4 separate regions of the Homo sapiens genome follow, and regions 2, 3 and 4 are each linked to region 1. Evidence: promoter capture Hi-C in 16 types of primary human blood cells and fetal thymus (Javierre and others, 2016). All regions are on one chromosome and are shown on one strand. Each heading gives the region's core, a stretch centred on a gene start or on the middle of the fragment in contact. The rest is flanking DNA. Distances are from core to core; before and after follow the strand shown.

Evidence for each region. Contacts are between HindIII fragments. The CHiCAGO score rates a contact against its expected background, and 5 or more counts as called.
Region 2: the fragment with the promoter of DMWD here is called in contact with the fragment with the promoter of CALM3 in region 1 in 1 of 17 cell types (erythroblasts); the score reaches 6.4 in erythroblasts.
Region 3: a contact is called between the fragment with the promoter of SYMPK here and the fragment with the promoter of CALM3 in region 1, in 1 of 17 cell types (neutrophils). The highest score is 5.1, in neutrophils.
Region 4: the fragment with the promoter of SAE1 here is called in contact with the fragment with the promoter of CALM3 in region 1 in 7 of 17 cell types (activated CD4 T cells, total CD4 T cells, neutrophils and 4 more); the score reaches 6.7 in activated CD4 T cells.

Annotation. Positions count from the first base shown.
Region 1 is chr19:46,599,292-46,603,639 of GRCh38, reverse strand. It overlaps CALM3 (calmodulin 3), which reads right to left and starts at 2,310. Exons shown (of 6, transcript NM_005184.4): 1 at 2,203-2,310. The coding sequence starts at 2,205. It also overlaps the pseudogene PPP5D1P. RefSeq lists enhancers at 748-817, 2,546-3,045 and a silencer at 2,276-2,415. The HindIII fragment of the contact is 6,234 bases long and covers 1,540-4,348 here.
Region 2 is chr19:45,790,821-45,795,168 of GRCh38, reverse strand. It overlaps DMWD (DM1 locus, WD repeat containing), which reads left to right and starts at 2,324. Exons shown (of 5, transcript NM_004943.2): 1 at 2,324-2,853; 2 at 4,082-4,264. The coding sequence starts at 2,413. RefSeq lists a silencer at 2,196-2,675 and enhancers at 3,824-3,873, 3,894-3,953. The HindIII fragment of the contact is 5,053 bases long and covers 1,067-4,348 here.
Region 3 is chr19:45,860,720-45,865,067 of GRCh38, reverse strand. SYMPK (symplekin scaffold protein) reads left to right here and starts at 1,921. Exons shown (of 27, transcript NM_004819.3): 1 at 1,921-2,010. FOXA3 (forkhead box A3) reads right to left here and starts at 742. Exons shown (of 2, transcript NM_004497.3): 1 at 543-742. The coding sequence starts at 611. RefSeq lists a silencer at 547-956 and enhancers at 1,597-2,006, 2,258-2,896. The HindIII fragment of the contact is 14,624 bases long and covers 1-4,348 here.
Region 4 is chr19:47,128,709-47,133,056 of GRCh38, reverse strand. SAE1 (SUMO1 activating enzyme subunit 1) reads right to left here and starts at 2,222. Exons shown (of 9, transcript NM_005500.3): 1 at 2,029-2,222. The coding sequence starts at 2,126. RefSeq lists enhancers at 1,902-2,141, 1,834-2,448. The HindIII fragment of the contact is 6,112 bases long and covers 1-4,348 here.

The sequences.
Region 1 (4,348 bases), core at 1,061-3,560:
TAAACTTTCAACAAAAACTGTTTCCAAAATAACTCAGCTGGTCTCCTGCTTCCTTATCCCTCATCTTAGGCTCCAGCAAGGGGCTGGACAAGAAAAAAAACCATGAGGTGGGGGAGGGAAGAGGGTGTGATTTCTCTGCCTTGCCCCAGCCCCCAGCCAATGCCAGAGAGCAGTGTTAGATGAGATCAGAAACCAAGGCCAGGGCCCCTCACCCGGGCCAAGGAGGAGCCACAGAGCTCAGGCCAAAGTCCAAGGCCAGTTACCAGTGACTTGTCCCACCTCTACCTTGCTGATTACAAACAGAAAGAGAAACTAGTTGTGGCCAAAGCTTGGGTCCTATTCTGGAGGTAGGGGGCCTGCTAGTGCTTCAGGGCCCCTTTTAGCCAGGTTCTGCTGGGGGAAAATGGGGTAGCGGCAAGAGGAGCCATCAGGTCTGTGTCAGCAAGTATGAGATCTGATACACAGCAGCGGCTGCCTGTTCTCCCCAGCCTTGCCAGGGAGGATGGCTGCACACGGTTCCCAGGCTCAGCCTGGTGGGGCTGTGGGTGTTGTGGGTGGCAGGGAGTAGGAAAGAACTAGTCTGCTGGTTTTCTCTCAAAGCCCTGTGAATTAACAGACACGCTCAGCGAGGGCCCTGAATGGAACAAGTGGCCCTCAGGCCGATCAAGGGGTCTCCCCAGAGGCACTCTCTGATCAAGCTCTGCAGCCCCCACCCCGAGGGCACGGGAATAGGCATCTGATTGTCACTGACGCCACACTGTACTGCACTGTCATTTGGCACAAGTGACGAGGTGCAGCATGGTGCGTGGGGCTGGGGATCATGAGAAAACCGGCGCTCCTGCTGGGAAAAGGCAGTGCTCTTGGCCTGAAAAGGGCAGCGACAGAGTGAGGCTTCTAGGCTTGAAAAAGCTGGCTCATTCGAGGCACCCCAAACTTTGATCTCCCATCCCCATTTCATGAGGCTTCAGTGCGCAATAGGGGCCCGAACAGCTCCGCCCACCTGCTCCCACTGCCCCGGTGTCTTCCACCCAGCCGCGTTCTTCCTGAGGAAGGAGGACGGTAGAAAAGCTTCCTCCGGGCCCTGCAGCCCACTCCCCATCCACACTGAGCCGTCTTTGTCCTGGCCTGTCCCTGGAGACTGGCAGGGTGCTACCCACATCCACCCCCAAACCTAGGCCCCCCTGACTGCCATTCATTTTCTCCTTCCACCTCACCTCCCAACCACCCAAGCCCAAGTCCTCCCCCACCCCTCACCTTGGAAATCCATCTTCTCTTGGACCCAAACACAACACTCCCACCCCGTTAAAAAAATTCTGTCTTTCTAGAGCAACAGTCTTAACCCACTAGTAACCTCGGAACCTTTTCTAGCTACTTCCAAATTAACCCCAAGGGTCCCTGTCCCCCGACTACTGGCGAGCCCCACTCTCACCATCCCTTTTCACCACCTCCACGACCCTGATCCTTCTCCGTCCCGGAAGCCTTCAAGAGTATCTTCTAATCTCCGCTGCCACCCACCCCAGGCTCTTCCTCCCATAAGCTTGCACCTCACCCTCCTCCTCCTCTGCAGTGCTGGGCTCTGGAGACCACCCTCCCCCACCCTCCCCCACCCTCGGGAGTCTCATCTGTAGAAGTGACCGCCCATCCTTGACCCTCTCCTCTGCTCCACAGGAGCCCAGGGGTCGCCCCTCCCCGCCCGGGCCCAGCTACCCTCCACCACCCCATCCAGGAGCAGCCCAGCCTCCCTTCGTCCCCCGTTCCCCGCATCCTCTCAGGACCAAACGCCTTCATCAGGGCCCGAATAGCTCCCCTCCCCAGCCCATCTTTCTTATTTCGTCCCCTGGGGTCCAAACACCTCCATCCTGAAACCCAACGCCCCATCCTGGGTCCAAAATCCTTTTGAGGGGTCCCACTGAGGGTCCCGATCCTCCATCCGGGGTTCAAATGTCCCCTTTAGGGGCTCAGATACCCATTTGTGGACTTAAACATCCCATTTGGTGCTAAAGTCGCTTCTGGAAACCTCTGGTGATCCAGACGTCCCGCTCTGGGTTCAACAGCCCCCGACAACGCGGGTAGAAAAGGGTCCCGAGGCTCTCGCCGGGCCCGGACGCCCCCCACTCTGGGCTCTGTCGCCCCCTCAGGGGTCCTGCCCCGTTAAGCCCGCCTCAGAGCCCGCAGCCTCGGCGACCCCCCAGCCTCACTCACCATGGCGAGGCCCGGGGTGTCCGGAGCACGGGGATCAAGGTTCCTCCGGCGGCGGCAGCAGCTGCAGCAGTTCCAGCTCCGCCGCGCGTCCGCGCCTCCACACTCACTGCCCGCAGCGCGCGCCGCCGCCGCCGCCGCCTCCCGCCCCAACGGTCCCTCAACGGCCGCCGCGCGCGCCCCGCCTCGCTCGGCCCCGCCCCACCCGGCCCGCGCGCCGCCGCACTGCGGCTCCCACGGATCCCTCCGCGCCCCGCTCCACACCTACGGGCCCGCGAATCTCTCGTCCCCACCCTGCACAGGAATTGGGTTTGCCGCCGGGCGCGCGCGCGCTCGCTCCCGTCGCCGGACTACTTTCCCTCGCCGCGCGCCCCGCCTCCCGGGCCCACTTCACTTTCTTCGGCGGAGGGGCACAGCTCGGCGGTGCGTGACGCGTCCCTCTGTGAGCCGCGTCACTATTGGGCCTGGCCCATGGCGGAAATGAGAGCTTGGCGCCCATTGGTCCGACCTTCCCTGCAATGCGTCAAACTGGGGCGAGCCACTGCAAGGTGGTGGTGGGTAAGTCTGAACTCTGTGGCCGCGTGGGGCTTTGAGGAGTAACGAGGCGAAGGGGGAAACGGCGTCGCCGTTAGAGAAGCAAATACGTCGTTTCTGTGGCCAGGAGGTGGTAAAAAGGCTGGCGACAAATGCAGAAGGGCTTTCTCGGCTCTCCCCTTTAACCGACGGACGATGGTTCAATCCAAAATGCTAGGGTTTAGAAGCTCCGCCCCTAACTGGGCCTTTGGAGGTGGCGGGGTCTCCAAGGTGCCACCTAACGCTCAGAGGTTCCGCCCTCCGTGGTCTTGTCTCTGCGTCCTAAGACGCACTCAGCCGGTGGGCGGGACCCCTGGGCCCGCTTCATTCTTGATCCGCTCAGGGTCTGTGAAATTAGGACCATCCCAGGACAGCCTGTGGGAACGGGGTATTCATTCAGTCATTCGTGCTATAAGCATCAATTAGGCGCCTGCTGTATGCAGGGACCTGAGCTTGGCTGGGCTGGGGAGACCATACTCCCCAACCAGCCTCTCCAGACAGACGACCTCTTTCCTTATTCCAGTGTTCCAGCCATAGGAGGAAAAAGAACTGAAACTTTGTTTATAGGAGCTCAGAAAATGATCACCCCTGCCCCCTCCCCCGTTTAGGATAGGAGCTGACAGTCTCCTGCGTGTCCCCTCCCCACCATGTTGATGGTTAAGAGATGGGCAAACGAGTCAGGCTGGACCAATCATTATGCTCCACCTGGAACAGAATGGAGACTGAACCAATGAGAGTCCTTCCCTGGGGTTTGGATCTGCAGCCTGGGCACAAGAAGCCTTTTCCTTTTGGGTGGGTCCTTCCCATAGATTCTGACTATGGTCATTTTCCCACTCTGCCCCCTATCTTGAGGAACAAAGTGTCTAGAGAAGAAGAGAAAAATAAAACTGACACAGTGGAGAGGTAAAGAAGATGGCCGGGCGCGGTGGCTCATGCCTTTAATCCTAACACTTGTTACTCAGTCTCAAATCTCATGTTAAAATGTGATCACCAATGTTGGAGGTGGGGCCTGGTGGGAGGTGTTTGGGTCATAGGGGTGGATCCCTCATGAATGACTTGGTGCTGTCCTCACGGTAACAAGTGAGTTCTTATTCTGTTAGTTCACACAAGATCTGTATTTTTTTTGAGACGGAGTCTTGCTCTGTCACATAGGCTAGAGTGCAGTGGCATGATCTTGGCTCACTACAACCTCCGCCTCCCAGGTTTAAGCGATTCTCCTGCCTCAGCCTCCCAAGTAGTTGGGACTACAGGCACCCACCACTACACTTGGCTAATTTTTGTATTTTTAGTAAAGACAGGGTTTCACCATGTTGGCCAGGCTGGTCTCAAACTCTTGAGCTCAAGTGATCCGCCTGCCTTGGCCTCCCAAAGTGCTGTAATCACAAGAATACAACCATCAGGAGTGCCTCAAGGGAGAAATATCCTCTGAGAATAGCCACAGACAAAGTGGGGAGGTGGGACTACCATCCCCAGCCCTGGAAACTCTCTCTACTCTATAACTTGGCCAAAGGAGATGCCAAATCAGAGTGGCTGTTCGTTAGCACCATGCTGTGGGAGGTTTCTTCCATAGCTCCCC
Region 2 (4,348 bases), core at 1,075-3,574, 810 kb after region 1:
GAAATACCTCCTGTCAGCCCACCCCTGTGCTGGGGACACAGACAGCTGCAGTCCTGCCTTCCTGGACCTCACAACACTATAGGGAGAGAGACTCATTTCCAGACAGTGACAGCCCAAATGGGGAAGCCCAGAGGACTGACAGAGCTCCCGAGCCAACTCTTAAAGGGTCAAGAAAAGAATGGGGAAAGGCATTCCAAGAATAGGGAACAGAATGTGCAAAGACCCAAGGACAAGAGAGAGTGTGATATGTTGGGGTAGTTTTTCAAGCCTCATTTTAGGTGGTGGATAGTGTGAGGAGTTAGTGGTGAGATATGAGATTGAAAAGAGGTTGGCAGGGGCCAGATCACTTGGGGCTTAACTTTCCCCTGAGAGCACTAGGGAGCTACAGATGGGTTTTGAGCAGGGGAGGGCCCTGATCATATTCATGCTTTAGAAAGACCTCTCTAGGCCTAGTGCAGTGGGTCACACATGTAATCCCAGCACTTAGGGAGGCCAAGGTTGGCGGATCACCTGAGGTCAGGAGTTTGAGACCAGCATGCCCAACATGGTGAAACCCCGTCTCTACTAAAACTACAAAAAAGTAGCTGGGTGTGGTGGCAGGTGCCTGTAATCCCAGCCACTCAGGAGGCTAAGGCAGGAGAATCACTTGAACCCAGGAGGCAGAGGTTGCAGTGAGCCAAAATCGTCCCATTGCACTCCAGCCCACGTGACAAGAGCGAGACTCTGTCTCAAAAAAAAAAAAAAAAAAAAAAAAAGCCGGGTGCAGTGGCTCATGCCTGTACTCCCAGCACTTTGGGAGGCCGAGGTGGGTGGATCACCTGAGGTCAGGAGTTCGAGACCAGACTGGCCAACATGGTGAAACCCCGTCTCTGAGCCGAGATGGAGCCATTGCACTCCAGCCTGGGTGACAGGGTGAGACTGTCTCAAAAAAAACAAAAACAAAAACAAAATAAAACCTCTCTACATGCCAAGTGAAAGGTGGAAGTGGGGGTGAGACAGAAATCTGGGAGACCAAGAGACACGGTTGATGTGGGGGTGGGGGAAGGGCTTGGGTAGAGGAGAAGCTTGGATCAGGGAGAACAAGGAACTGAGAAAGAGGAATTCCACGTGGTCGAATGCAAAAGACTTGGAGGCTGTAAGCGGGGGCAGAGTGAAGATAAATGGTACACATCTAGGAAGACACCCAGGTCTGTGGCCTGGTTGACTGAGTGGACGGCAGAGCTAGCCCTAAGGTGGGGATGCAAGAGAGGTGGAGGATTTGGTGTAAGACGTCAATTTCATTGTAGGATTCTTTTTTCTTTCTTTTTTTTTTTTTTTTAGAGAGACTGAGTCTGACTCTGTCCCCCAGGCTTTAGTGCAGTGATGTGAATTCATAGCAGTCTTGATCTCCTGGGCTCAAACGATCCTCCCACCTCAGCCTCCCAAAGTGCTGGGATTCTCGGATTCCAGGCATGAGCCACCATGCCCGAACCATTGTAGGATTTTTTTTTTTAAGTGTGAGATGCCCTTGGGACACTCTAGGGAGAAATCGTAGAGGCCATTGACTACATGAGACTAGAAAGATCTATGATGGGGCTGGGTGGCTTCAGCAGACATGGGGAGCACTGGCTATGAGTAGGAGCTGTTGGGATCAGGGGGAGACTTTGGGTTACGAGTGGATCACTGGGACACTGGGGCACCGTGGGGATCAATACAATTTGGGAATCAGAGGTAGGTTTTGGAGGACAAGTGAGGTTGTTGAAAATAAGAAAATCATGGAAATATACATTGGAGGTTGGTGGAAAATATGAAGGATGTTTGGAGTTAGCATTAATCAATAGTGGGTCAGAGGAAGTCCTCTGAGTTGTGTGGGGACACAGGGATTTGGTGGGTCACCAAGGGTGGGGAAGAATGGTAGCAGATGCTGTGGTCATTCAGGGATTTGAATATGTCAGTGGGAAACACTGGAGGTCAGGGGAGTGTATATTGGGCGTCTAAGGAGAGACCAGGGTCACTTGGGGTTGGCTGTGACTTCATGGGAAGGCTGGACTATGGATGAGGGCTTCTTTGTCGTGGGGGAAAAAAAAAAAAAAATCCCTCCGTTGCTAGGCAAACGTTCCCAGGGCGCGGTTGCTAAGGACTTGAGCTTTCTAACTGGCCACGCCTCTTTCCATTGCGGGCTCCGCCCCCGCAGCCAACCACAAGTCGGTCACAGGCTCAAAGGCCGCGCCCACCTTCTCGCCCCGCCCACAGTCCCAGCACCGTTACCCGAGCGACCGCGGGGATTCGTCCCGCCTCCGGATCTGGGTGCCAATCGAAGAGGCGTTGCCCGGGCGACGACCCCACCTTTTCCGGCGCGGGCCAGCGGCTTCCGGGAGGGGGCCCGGCTGCGGGCGGCAGTCCGGCAGTGGCGGGGCCCGGGGGGCGCCCAAGATGGCGGCGGGCGGCGCGGAGGGCGGCTCGGGCCCCGGCGCCGCCATGGGGGACTGCGCGGAGATTAAGTCGCAATTCCGCACGCGCGAGGGTTTCTACAAGCTACTCCCGGGCGACGGCGCCGCTCGCAGGTCGGGTCCGGCTTCCGCCCAGACTCCGGTGCCGCCTCAGCCACCGCAGCCCCCGCCCGGCCCTGCCTCCGCCTCCGGTCCCGGCGCTGCAGGCCCCGCGTCGTCCCCGCCGCCCGCAGGCCCCGGACCCGGGCCCGCCCTGCCCGCCGTGCGCCTCAGCCTCGTGCGCCTCGGGGAGCCGGACAGCGCCGGGGCCGGGGAGCCGCCCGCCACGCCCGCGGGGCTGGGCTCGGGGGGAGACCGCGTCTGCTTCAACTTGGGCCGTGAGCTCTATTTCTACCCAGGCTGCTGTCGTCGTGGGAGCCAACGGGTGAGCGGCCTGCATCGTGGGGCCCTGGGTGCTGAAAGGATGGAGGTTCCAGAGAACTGATAGGAGGGTCCCCGAATTGATATGGGGCCCTGAGATAGGCATTCTAAATGTGATGGACGTTGTAGGGCGACAGCATTGGAGGGAGTACAGGATTCTGAAATGTGATGAGAGGCCCGCGGGGTGCTGGGCAGGCATCTTGGAGGTGATGGGGGAAATCCCCTTTACCCCCGTTATGCGTAGGAGTTCTGGGATGGTGACTATTGGACATGATGGGGTATCTGAGATGAGGTGGGATCCCCCGGGTTCTGGGGTGGCAGGCATTCTGCAGGTAATGGGGAATCATGAGGTGATGCAAGCCCAGAGGTGATGGAGAACCCAGTATTGCAGCCTGGAGGTGTGGGAGAGGGGTCTTGAGATTGAGCCCAGGAATGAGGAGAAGTCTAGAAGTGATGGGGGCCTTGAAGGTGATAGGGGATCCAGAAGCTGAATGGGATTCTAGAGAAAATTGGGGTCTGGAAGTCATGAGGGTCCTGGAGGAGATGAGCGTCCGGAAGCTGATGGGAGCTCTCAAGGGAATGAGAGGCCCTGGCAGGGGAATCTGCAGGTGTGATTCAGGACATCTCTAAAGCGATGTGGTGAGAACCCTGGCCGTTTATGGTGATCCCAGAAATGATGGGGATCCTTCGGAGCCCCTAGGTAATAAATGGGCCTAAAATGTGGGAGACCGTGAGGTTTGACGGGTCCCAGAACTGTGGCGGTTTAGGGACTACAAAGTGAAGAGAATGCTAGGATGTTAGGCTTTAGAGTCCTGGAAATTTGGGTGACCTCAAGGTTTGGGGGTCTTGGAATAGTGTGGTACTAGGTCCCAAGGGAGTTGCTGAGGTTATAGGATGGAGTGGTGAGGCTAAAAGGAATCGGAGCTTAGGAACTGTGTGGACCCAGAACCCTGATTATGTGGACAAGGGTGTCTCTGAATTAGAGGTGACCCAACTTTGGGGAGGCACTGTGGTCAAGGGGGATCCTTACCATCTTTTTTGCTACTCTTGTCTGTGATTTGGGTCCCCTTCCCGTCTGTGGTTGCCCCGTCCTTCGCAATCCACCTACTCACCTCCCCACTTCCCTCTGGGTTCTAACCCTGCTTCCTCTTAGTGGTTTCCCCCAACCTCAACATCCTCTTCCTTCTCCTCAGTGGCATACACCATTAACTCCTTTTCTCCCACCCCTCAAGTCCATTGACCTCAACAAGCCAATTGACAAGCGGATCTACAAGGGCACCCAGCCCACCTGCCACGATTTCAACCAGTTCACTGCTGCCACCGAGACCATCTCGCTGCTGGTGGGCTTCTCAGCGGGTCAAGTGCAGTACCTGGATCTCATCAAAAAGGACACCAGCAAGCTGTTCAATGAGGAGGTGATTGCAGCCCCCAGAGCCCCCAACTTCTCTGCCTTCTCACCTACCCACTATATGCCATTAGGATGCAGCTGCCTGCGGAAC
Region 3 (4,348 bases), core at 672-3,171, 740 kb after region 1:
CACCAATCCCTATGTCTGACCCTACCTTAGATTACCAGCTGATCCTTAGCCCCGAACCCCGGTTCTTTAACACTGTGTGCTGGCCCTGAGCTCCCACCTCAGTCTTCCCCTTAATGGTGACTCCTCCTCCATCTTTTAGTCTTTCTTTCCCTCCAACTTTGAACCTCACATCCTGAAACCCCCTAGTCTGTCCCCTACCCTGGAACTCTGATTCCTATCTTTGGTTTGTACATATAAATCCCTTGCTTTTTGGGGCTCCAACACCCGGCTCCCAAGTTTAAGGTGTGACCCGACCCTTGGCTAAATTTTCCTGACTTCCATTTTTAAGCCCTGGCCGCGGCGAGGCTGCCCAAACAGCGCTCCCATCCATGCCTCGTCCCCGGTCCCCGACTTCCACACCTGGTCTCCGTGTTCCCAGTTCCTCAGCTGCCCAAGTAGACGCCTTTGCCTCCATTTGAACCCACAACCAGTCCCTGCTCCATGTGAGCCCACACCCCGATACCTGCCCCCAACTTCCCGCTCCGCCATCCCCGAGGACACACCTCGCCCGCCTCCGGGTAGTAGCTCCACTCGGCCAGGTCATGGGCCTCCATCTTCACTGAGCCCAGCATCCCCCGGGCTTACGCCCCCACCCGCCCCCGCTCCGGCCCCGGGGGAACGGAGCGCTCTGGATCTCTCAGCGGGCACGGCCCGAGCTCCCACCGGCGCCCGCCCGTCCGACCGCCCGGGGTACGGCTGTCCCGAGCGCCGCGGGAGGCGGCCACGCTTTATAGCCGGGACACCCCCGCCCTCGCCCGCCCCGGGCTCCCCTCCCGCCTCCCCGAGGGCGGCGCGCTCGGACTGGGGCGCCCCCTGCGGGATCGCCAGGAGACAGACCTCAGGCGCCGGGGGCCGCAGCCCCAGGACGCGACAGCTGGGGGTGATTCAGGAGTGAGGGAGCTGCCCGCAGCGACGCTGCAGATACCAAGGGCCCCGAGGTCAGAACTCTGGAGCCTTTCTACCTCAGGGGGCTTCATCATCTCGGCAGGAGAGGACGAAGAGCCAGAGCCCTGCATGACCGTGGCGGAAGAAAGGGGAATCAGAACGCTAGGGCCACTATGCGACTACAAGGACCCGTAAAAGGTCCCCGAAATCACATCCCCATTGGACAGACAGGAAGACTGAGGCTTCCGACGGCTAGAAATGCTTAACTTGGCCGGGCGCGGTGGCTCACGCCTGTAATTCCAGCACTGCAGGAGGCCGAGGCGGGCGGACGAATCACTTGAGGTCAGGAGTTTGAGACCAGCCTGGCCAACAGGGTGAAACCCCATCTCTATTAAAAATACAACAACTAGCTAGGCGTGATGGTGCGTGCCTGTTATCCCAGCTATTCGGGAGGCTGAGGCAGGAGAATCGTTTGAACCTAGGAAGCGGAGGTTGCAGTGAGCCGAGATCGCGCCACTGCAGTCCAGCCTGGGAGAGAGAGCGGGACTCCGTTTCCAAAAAAAAAGAAAGAAAGAAAAGAAAAGAAAAAGAAATGCTTCAGACTGTTGAAAGGGTCAAGAACAAAGATGGAGGGGATCGGGGCCTCTCCGCAGACCCCACTAGGGCAACAGACCACCTCCCCTCCAAGACCCAGGAGCTTCGCTGCCCGAACTCCGCACTCTCCAAGACCAGCCAGCCGTCCAGGGACTCAGCACCACTGAGAACTCCATTTCCCAGAATGCTCTAGCTCCCTTTCCGCCCGGTGCCTCCGAAGGGACTACATTTCCCAGAAGGCCTAGCCGGACCCAGAGCCGGAAATGAAGGGTCTGCTCGCCGTAGTATGGAGGCGGGCAGAATGCCGCTCGCACGGGACGAGGCATGGGCGGGGTCGGGCTGTGCTCTGGACTCCATTTCCCGGCGGCCCTGGGTGTGTGGCGCGTGCGCACCGTTCCCGGCGACGAACGGAAGATGGCGGCGGCGGCGGCGGCGGAGTGTAGGAAGAGGCACTGCTGAGGGGGCGCGAGGGGAACGGAGGCCAGAGCTGCGGTGAGCGGGAGGCGGCGTTTGGGCCCGGAGACGAAAGGAGGAGGCTCCTAAAGAAGCAGGGGCTCGGGCGGGGAGGGCATCGCCGTGGGGAGAGGGGAACAGTGGCTTTCGCGACCCATGTTTCTTCCCTTGCTCAGGACCCTTCCTTGGCTCCCTAGTGCCCTCGAGGCAAAGTTCCAACGTGGCCCCCCGGGCGCCACCGCCCCGCAGACCTCGCTTGCTTCGACTCGGCCTCTTTGCTTTTTCCCCCACCTCTAACAGCCGCCCTGGCCTTTCGGTTCCTTAAACTTGCCATGCGCTTTCCCGCTTCGGGGATTTTGCACAGGCTGTCCCTTCTGCCTGCAACATCCTTTTACCCATTCGGCTTGGCTAACTCCCATTTCATCCTTCGGGTCTCGGCACCAACGTCACTTCCTCTGCGAAGCCCTCCTTCCCTGCCCTCCATCCAGAAATCCGCCTGTTAAATGCTTTTGTCGGTCCGTGTTCCTTCATGTCACGTGTGGTCTAATTTGTTATCCGACTCTTATCTGTGTGCTGTTTTATGATGTCTATGACCGTGTGTTCCATGAAGGTAGGGACTAGGTTTGTCTCTGTCGCCACTGTGTTCTCAGCACAGCGCCAATCACGCCGGAGACGCCCAGCTAATGTTCGTTGAAGGAATAAAAGATACTCCTAGAGCCAGTTTGGGGAAACAGGGTAGTCATCAGATTCCTAGGTAGCAGTGGGGCAGGGTACCACTTCTTAACGAGTACATCGAGAGGGAAGGGGAAACAGTGATACTGTTCATCATAGCAAAAGGCTACACGCATCCCAAATGTTCTTAAATAAGAAGATTGGCTGAAAGAAACTATAATACATCCACATAAAAAATACTATGCAACTCTAAAAAGGAATGAGGTAGATAAAAGGAAATGATGAAAATCTCTATACACTGATATAGTGGCCTCCAACATATATTAAGGGAAAACAAGTGAAGTGGAGGTTGGTGTTTATTGTATATGCTTTTTCTTTTTTTTTTTTTTTGAGACAGGGTCTCACTCTGTCGCCCAGGCTGGCACGATCCCAGTTCACTGCAACCTCCACCTCCCTGGTTCAAGTGATTCTCCCACCCCAGCCTCTCGAGTAGCTGGGATTACAAACGTGCCCCACCACACCCAGGTAATTTTTATATTTTTAGTAGAGACGGGGTTTCTCTGTGTTGGCCAGGCTGGTCTTGAACTCCTGACCTCAAGTGATCTGCCCACCTCAGCCTTCCAAAGTGCAGGGATTACAGGCCTGAGCCACCAAACTCGGCCTGTGTAGGCTCCTTTTTTTTTTTTTTGAGACAGAGTCTCACTCTGTCACCCAGGCTGGAGTGCAGTGGCGTGATCTCGGCTCACTGCAACCTCTGCCTTCCAGGTTCAAGCAATTCGCCTGCCTCAGCCTCCCAGGTAGCTGGGATTACAGGCACACCACCACGCCTGGCTAATTTTTGTATTTTTAGTAGAGATGGGGTTTCACCATGTTGGTCAGGCTGGTCTTGAACTCCTGACCTCGTGATCCACCTGCCTCCGCCTCCCGAAGTGCTGGGATTACAGGCGTGAGTCACCGCTCCCGGCCCTGTGTATGCTCTTTTTGTAAATGAAAGGGAAATATGTATATATGGGTTTTTTTATTTTCATTTTTTTTCCTTTTTTTGCATAAAATCTAGCTCCTGCAGGAGAATTTTGTGTATGTGTGTTTAAAAAAGAACAAAACAAAACTGAAAGCATAAACCAAAAAGCAGAAGAAGAATGAAACAGGGTAAAATATTTTGGTTGATCTGAATGTATTATCATGAAAAAAGTGGAAATGTTTATTATGGGGTTTTATTTTATTTTATTTTATTTTTTGAGGCAGAGTCTCATTCTGTCGCCCAGGCTGGAGTGCAGTGGTGTTGGGATTACAGGTGTGAGCCACCATGCCCGGCCTGTTTTTTTTATGTTTTGACTGGGGACGGCATGCCATGCCGGTTGTCTGGTGGCCAGGATCCTTGGCTTACGTAAACAGACCTGGGGGTAAAAAACAATTCCTTTCAGATAAACAGTACTGTAGCATAGTGGTAAGGAAGATATGCAGCCATGCTGCTGACTCTGCCTCTTACAAGCTATATGCCTTTGGTCAGGTCACTTTACCTCCCTGGTCTTCAGTTTCCTCATCTGTAAAATGAAAATTAAAAATACTAACTCCCAGCCTGGGCAACATGGCGAAACCCTTCTCTACAGAAAGTACAAAAATTAAATGGGGATTCGCCTGTAGTCTCAGCTACTTGGGAAAATGAGGTAGGAGGATCGCCTGAGCCCGGGAGGCAGAGATTGCG
Region 4 (4,348 bases), core at 973-3,472, 530 kb before region 1:
GAAAGTTCTCCCAGATGACCACAGGGCTCTTTCCCATATAAGTCTGAGGCTCAATGTTACCTCTTCAGAGCCCTTCCCTGGCCAACCTATCAAAACAACCCTCTCACTTCACCATCCTTTAATAACTGACACATATACACACGCTTGTGGATTTTTTTTTTTTTTTTGAGACGGGGCCTCACTCTGTCACCCAGGCTGGGGTGTAGTGGTGTGATCATGGCTCACTGCAACCTCCACCTCCCAGGGGCTCAGGTGATGCTCCCACCTCAGTCTCCTGACAAGCTGGGACTATAAACTTATGTCACCATGCCTGGCTAATTTTTGTATTTTTTTGTAGAGACTGGGTTTGGCAACATTACCCAGGCTAGTCTCAAACTCCTGGGCTCAAGAGGTCCCCTCCCCCCAACTCAGCTTCCCAAAGTGCTGGGATTACAGGTGTGAGTCACTGCGTCCAGGCTAAGTAAAAATATTGATCAATGAGGCCAGGCATGGTAGCTCATGCCTGTAATCCCAGCATTTTAGGAGTCTGAGATGGGGGGAGATCTCTTGAGGCCGAGGATCGCTTGAGCTTGGGAGTTCAAGACCAGTCTGGGCAACATGGCAAAACCCCATCCTACAAAAAAAAAAAAAAACAAAAATTAGTCGGATGATGTGGTGGGGCACGCCTGTAGTCCCAGCTACTTGGGAGGCTGAAGAGGGAATATCCCTTGAGCCTTGGAGGTTGAGGCTACAGTGAGCTGTGATCCCACCACTGCACTCCACTGGGCCACAGAGAAAGAAAAAAAAAAAAAACAAGCTGGGCACAGTGGCTCACGTCTGTAATCCAACCACTTTGGGAGGCTGTGGCGGGCAGATCACTTGAGGTCCGGAGTTTGAGACCAGCCTGGCCAACATGGTGAAAACCCATGTCTACTAAAAATACAAAAATTAGCCAGGCATGGTGGCGCGAGCCTGTAATCCCAGCTACTCAGAAGACTGAGGTGAGAGGAAGTCTTGAACCCGGGAGGCCAGAGGCTGCAGTGAACCGAGGTCACCCAACTGCACAAAACAAAAGACGTCCTGGCGCGGTGGCTCACTCCTGTAATCCCAGCACTTCAGGAGGCCGAGGCGGGTGGATCACTTGAGGTAAGGAGATCGAGACCAGTCTCGTCAATATGGCGAAACCCCGTGTCTACTAAAAATACAAAAATTAGCCGGGCGTGCTGGCGGGCCCCTATAATCCCAGCTACTCGGGAGGCTGAGTTAGGAGAATCGCTTGAATCCGGGAGGCAGAGGTTGCAGTGAGCCGAGATCGCGCCACTGCCCTCCAGCCTGGGCGACAGAGAGAGACTATCTCAAAAAAAAAAAAAAAAAAAAAAAGAATTCCCTAAGCTACTCCACAATGCCCAAACTACGTCTCCTGTCCTATCAAGACACAGCCCCATACCAAACACAAGCAACCTTTTCGGGAGCCTACGGCCGTCCCCCTCCAGCCTCTCCGAGCCTCTCAAGATTCCCATTTGAGATAACTTGCTCCAAAACTCCTCAAAACCCGCATTCTCTCAGACTGGCCCGCCCGTGAGCTCCCACAAGAGTGTAAGCTCCCGTCTGTCCGGTTGGCCAGTCCAGTCTCCCCTGTGTGCAGCACGGAACCAGGTCCCATACCCTCGAATGAATGAACTGCGTCCCTCACCTCACCCTTTCCACGTATCCCCAGCCCCTCTTATCCCCTAACCGCGATCAAACCCCACAATCACCGCTTTCGGGCCTCGGATTTCCTGAGTTTGAATTCTCCCGCTCTCTCAGGACTCCCCAACGCCCCCTTCAGAGCTCCCATCCTTCGGAACGGCCCTCCCAACCACTTCCCAGACCTTCCAGAAACATCCCCAATCAACTCCTCCAGTCCCCCCAAGAGAGAGACGATCCCAGAGCACAGAATTCCCGCCTCCTCCCTTCAAATCACACCTTCCCGCTCCTTCCGGGCCGCAAACGCCTCAGAATAGACGCCCCCTCCAGACCCTAGCGGCCTCAAGCCGCGCCGGCCCTGACCGTTTCTGGGCCTCCAGTCCCCACAGGCGGATCTGCCGGTCATACTGTGCCGCCTCCTCCTCGCTAATGCCGCCGCCAGCCTCCTCCTTCTCCACCATGGCGCCGGCTCTTCCTGCCTCAGCTCCGGTCCCGCTCAAGCCAACCGCCCGCCGGACCCGCGCGCCACCTACCGCCGCCGGCAGCACGCCCGGAGTGCTTCTGCGCATGCGCAGACCCTCCCACGCCTGCGCAGTACCTCGTCCGCGGAGCCTGGGACCAAAAGTACCTCACGAGACTCAAAGGCGATCCGGCGACTGCATGTCACGTGACGGAGGGTCCAACCAATCCTAGCCCCAAAAATGGCGCGGCTTAAGGCCCCGAGGGCGTTGCCCACGTGGTCACTTATGTGGCACTTAAATTCTGCAAATATTTAAGGAGTGCATACTGAGATCCCAGCAATAGGGATGTTGTAAAATAACGGTATTGAGTGAAATCGACAAAGCCCTGTCCTCATGGAGTTTACGATCCAGTGAGAAAAGCCCGAAGAGAAATAAATATAAACCCAGCGATGATAAATGCTTTGGAGAAAAATAAAGCAGGACATGGGGCTACAGAGTAACAGGGGTGGTCAGGGAAGGCTTATCAGAGGTGACATTGAACTGTCAATTTTTTTTTTTTTTTTTCATAGAGATGGGGTCCCTCTGTTGCCTAGGCTGGTCTCCAACTCCTGGCCTCAAGCCATCCTCCCGCCTCTGCCTCCCAAAGTGCTGGGATTACAACCATGAGCCACTGTGCCCAGCCTTTCATGTCCCTACTATGTGTTGCACTTTGTGCCCAGCCCTGGACATACAATAATAATAAAAATGAACACATCTCTGCCTTAGAGGCAGTCACGGCCCAGTGGGAGAGAGGAGCGTTAAGAAAACAGGAATAGGCCAGGCACGGTGACTCGCACCTGTAATCTCAGCACTTCGGAAGGCCAAGGCAGGCAGATTACTTTAAATCAGGAGTTGGAGACCAGCCTGGCTAATGTGGTGAAATCCCGTCTTTAGTAAAAATAAAAAAATTAGCAGGGCATGGTGGCTCACACTTGTAGTCCCAGCTACTTGGAAGGCTGAGGTAGGATAATTGCTTGAATCCGGGAGGCGGAGGTTGTAGTAAGCCAAGATCATGCCTCTGCACTCCAACCTGGGTAACAGAGCAAGACTCTGTAAAAAAAAAAAAAAAAGAAAGAAAGAAAGAAAGGAAGGAAGGAGGGAGGGAAAGAGAGAGGGAAAGGAAGGAAGGAAGGGAAAAAAAAAAAAAACCAGGGATGGCCCCAGGTGGTCAATATAGGGAAACGCTATCTCTATTAAAAATACAAAAATTAGCTTGGTGTGGTGGTACTGAGTCTATAGTCCCAGCTACGTGGGAGGCTGAGGTGGAAGGATTTCTGATGTTAGAATCATAGGCTTTTTGGCAGGGCACAGTGGCTCATGCCTGTAATCCCAGCACTTTGGGACGCCAGGGAGGGCAGATCACGAAGTCAGGAGTTCGAGACCAGCCCGGCCAAGATGGTGAAACCCCCATCTCTACTAATACTAAAAAATTAGCCGGGCGTGGTGGCACACGCCTGTAGTCTCAGCCAATTGGGAGGCTGAGGCCGGAGAATCGCTTGAACCTGGGAGGCAGAGGTTGCAGTGAGCCAAGATCCTGCCACTGCACTCCAGCATGGATGACAGAGACTCCCGTCTAAAAAAAAAAAAAAAAAAGCCACCATGCCCACCTAACTTTTGTATTTTTAGTAGAGACAGGGATTGCACCATGTTGGCCAGGCTGGTCTCGAACTCCTGAACTTGTGATCCACCCGCCTCGGCCTCCCAAAGTGCACGGATTACAGGTGTGAGCCACCATGCCTGGCGGAATCATAGATTTTTATTTAAGAATTGCTTAGGCCGGAGGTGGTGGCTCACGCCTGTAATCCCAGCATTTTGGGAGGCAGAGGTGGGCGGATCACGAGGTCAGGAGTTCGAGATCAGCCTGGCTAACATGGTGAAACCTTGTCTCTACTAAAACTACAAAAAATTAGCCGGGCGTGGTGGCAGGCGCATGTAGTCCCAGCTACTGAGGAGGCTGAGGCAAGAGAATAGCATGAACCTGGGAGATGGAGCTTGCAGTGAGCCGAGTTCGCGCCACTGCACTCCAGCCTGGGCAACAGAGCAAGACTCCGTCTCAGAAAAAAATAAATAAATAAATAAATAAATAAATAATAAGAATTGCTTAGCGCCCGGCATGGTGGCTCATGCCTGTAATCCATGCGCTTTAGGAGACTGAGATAGGAAAATCACTTGAAGTCAGGAGT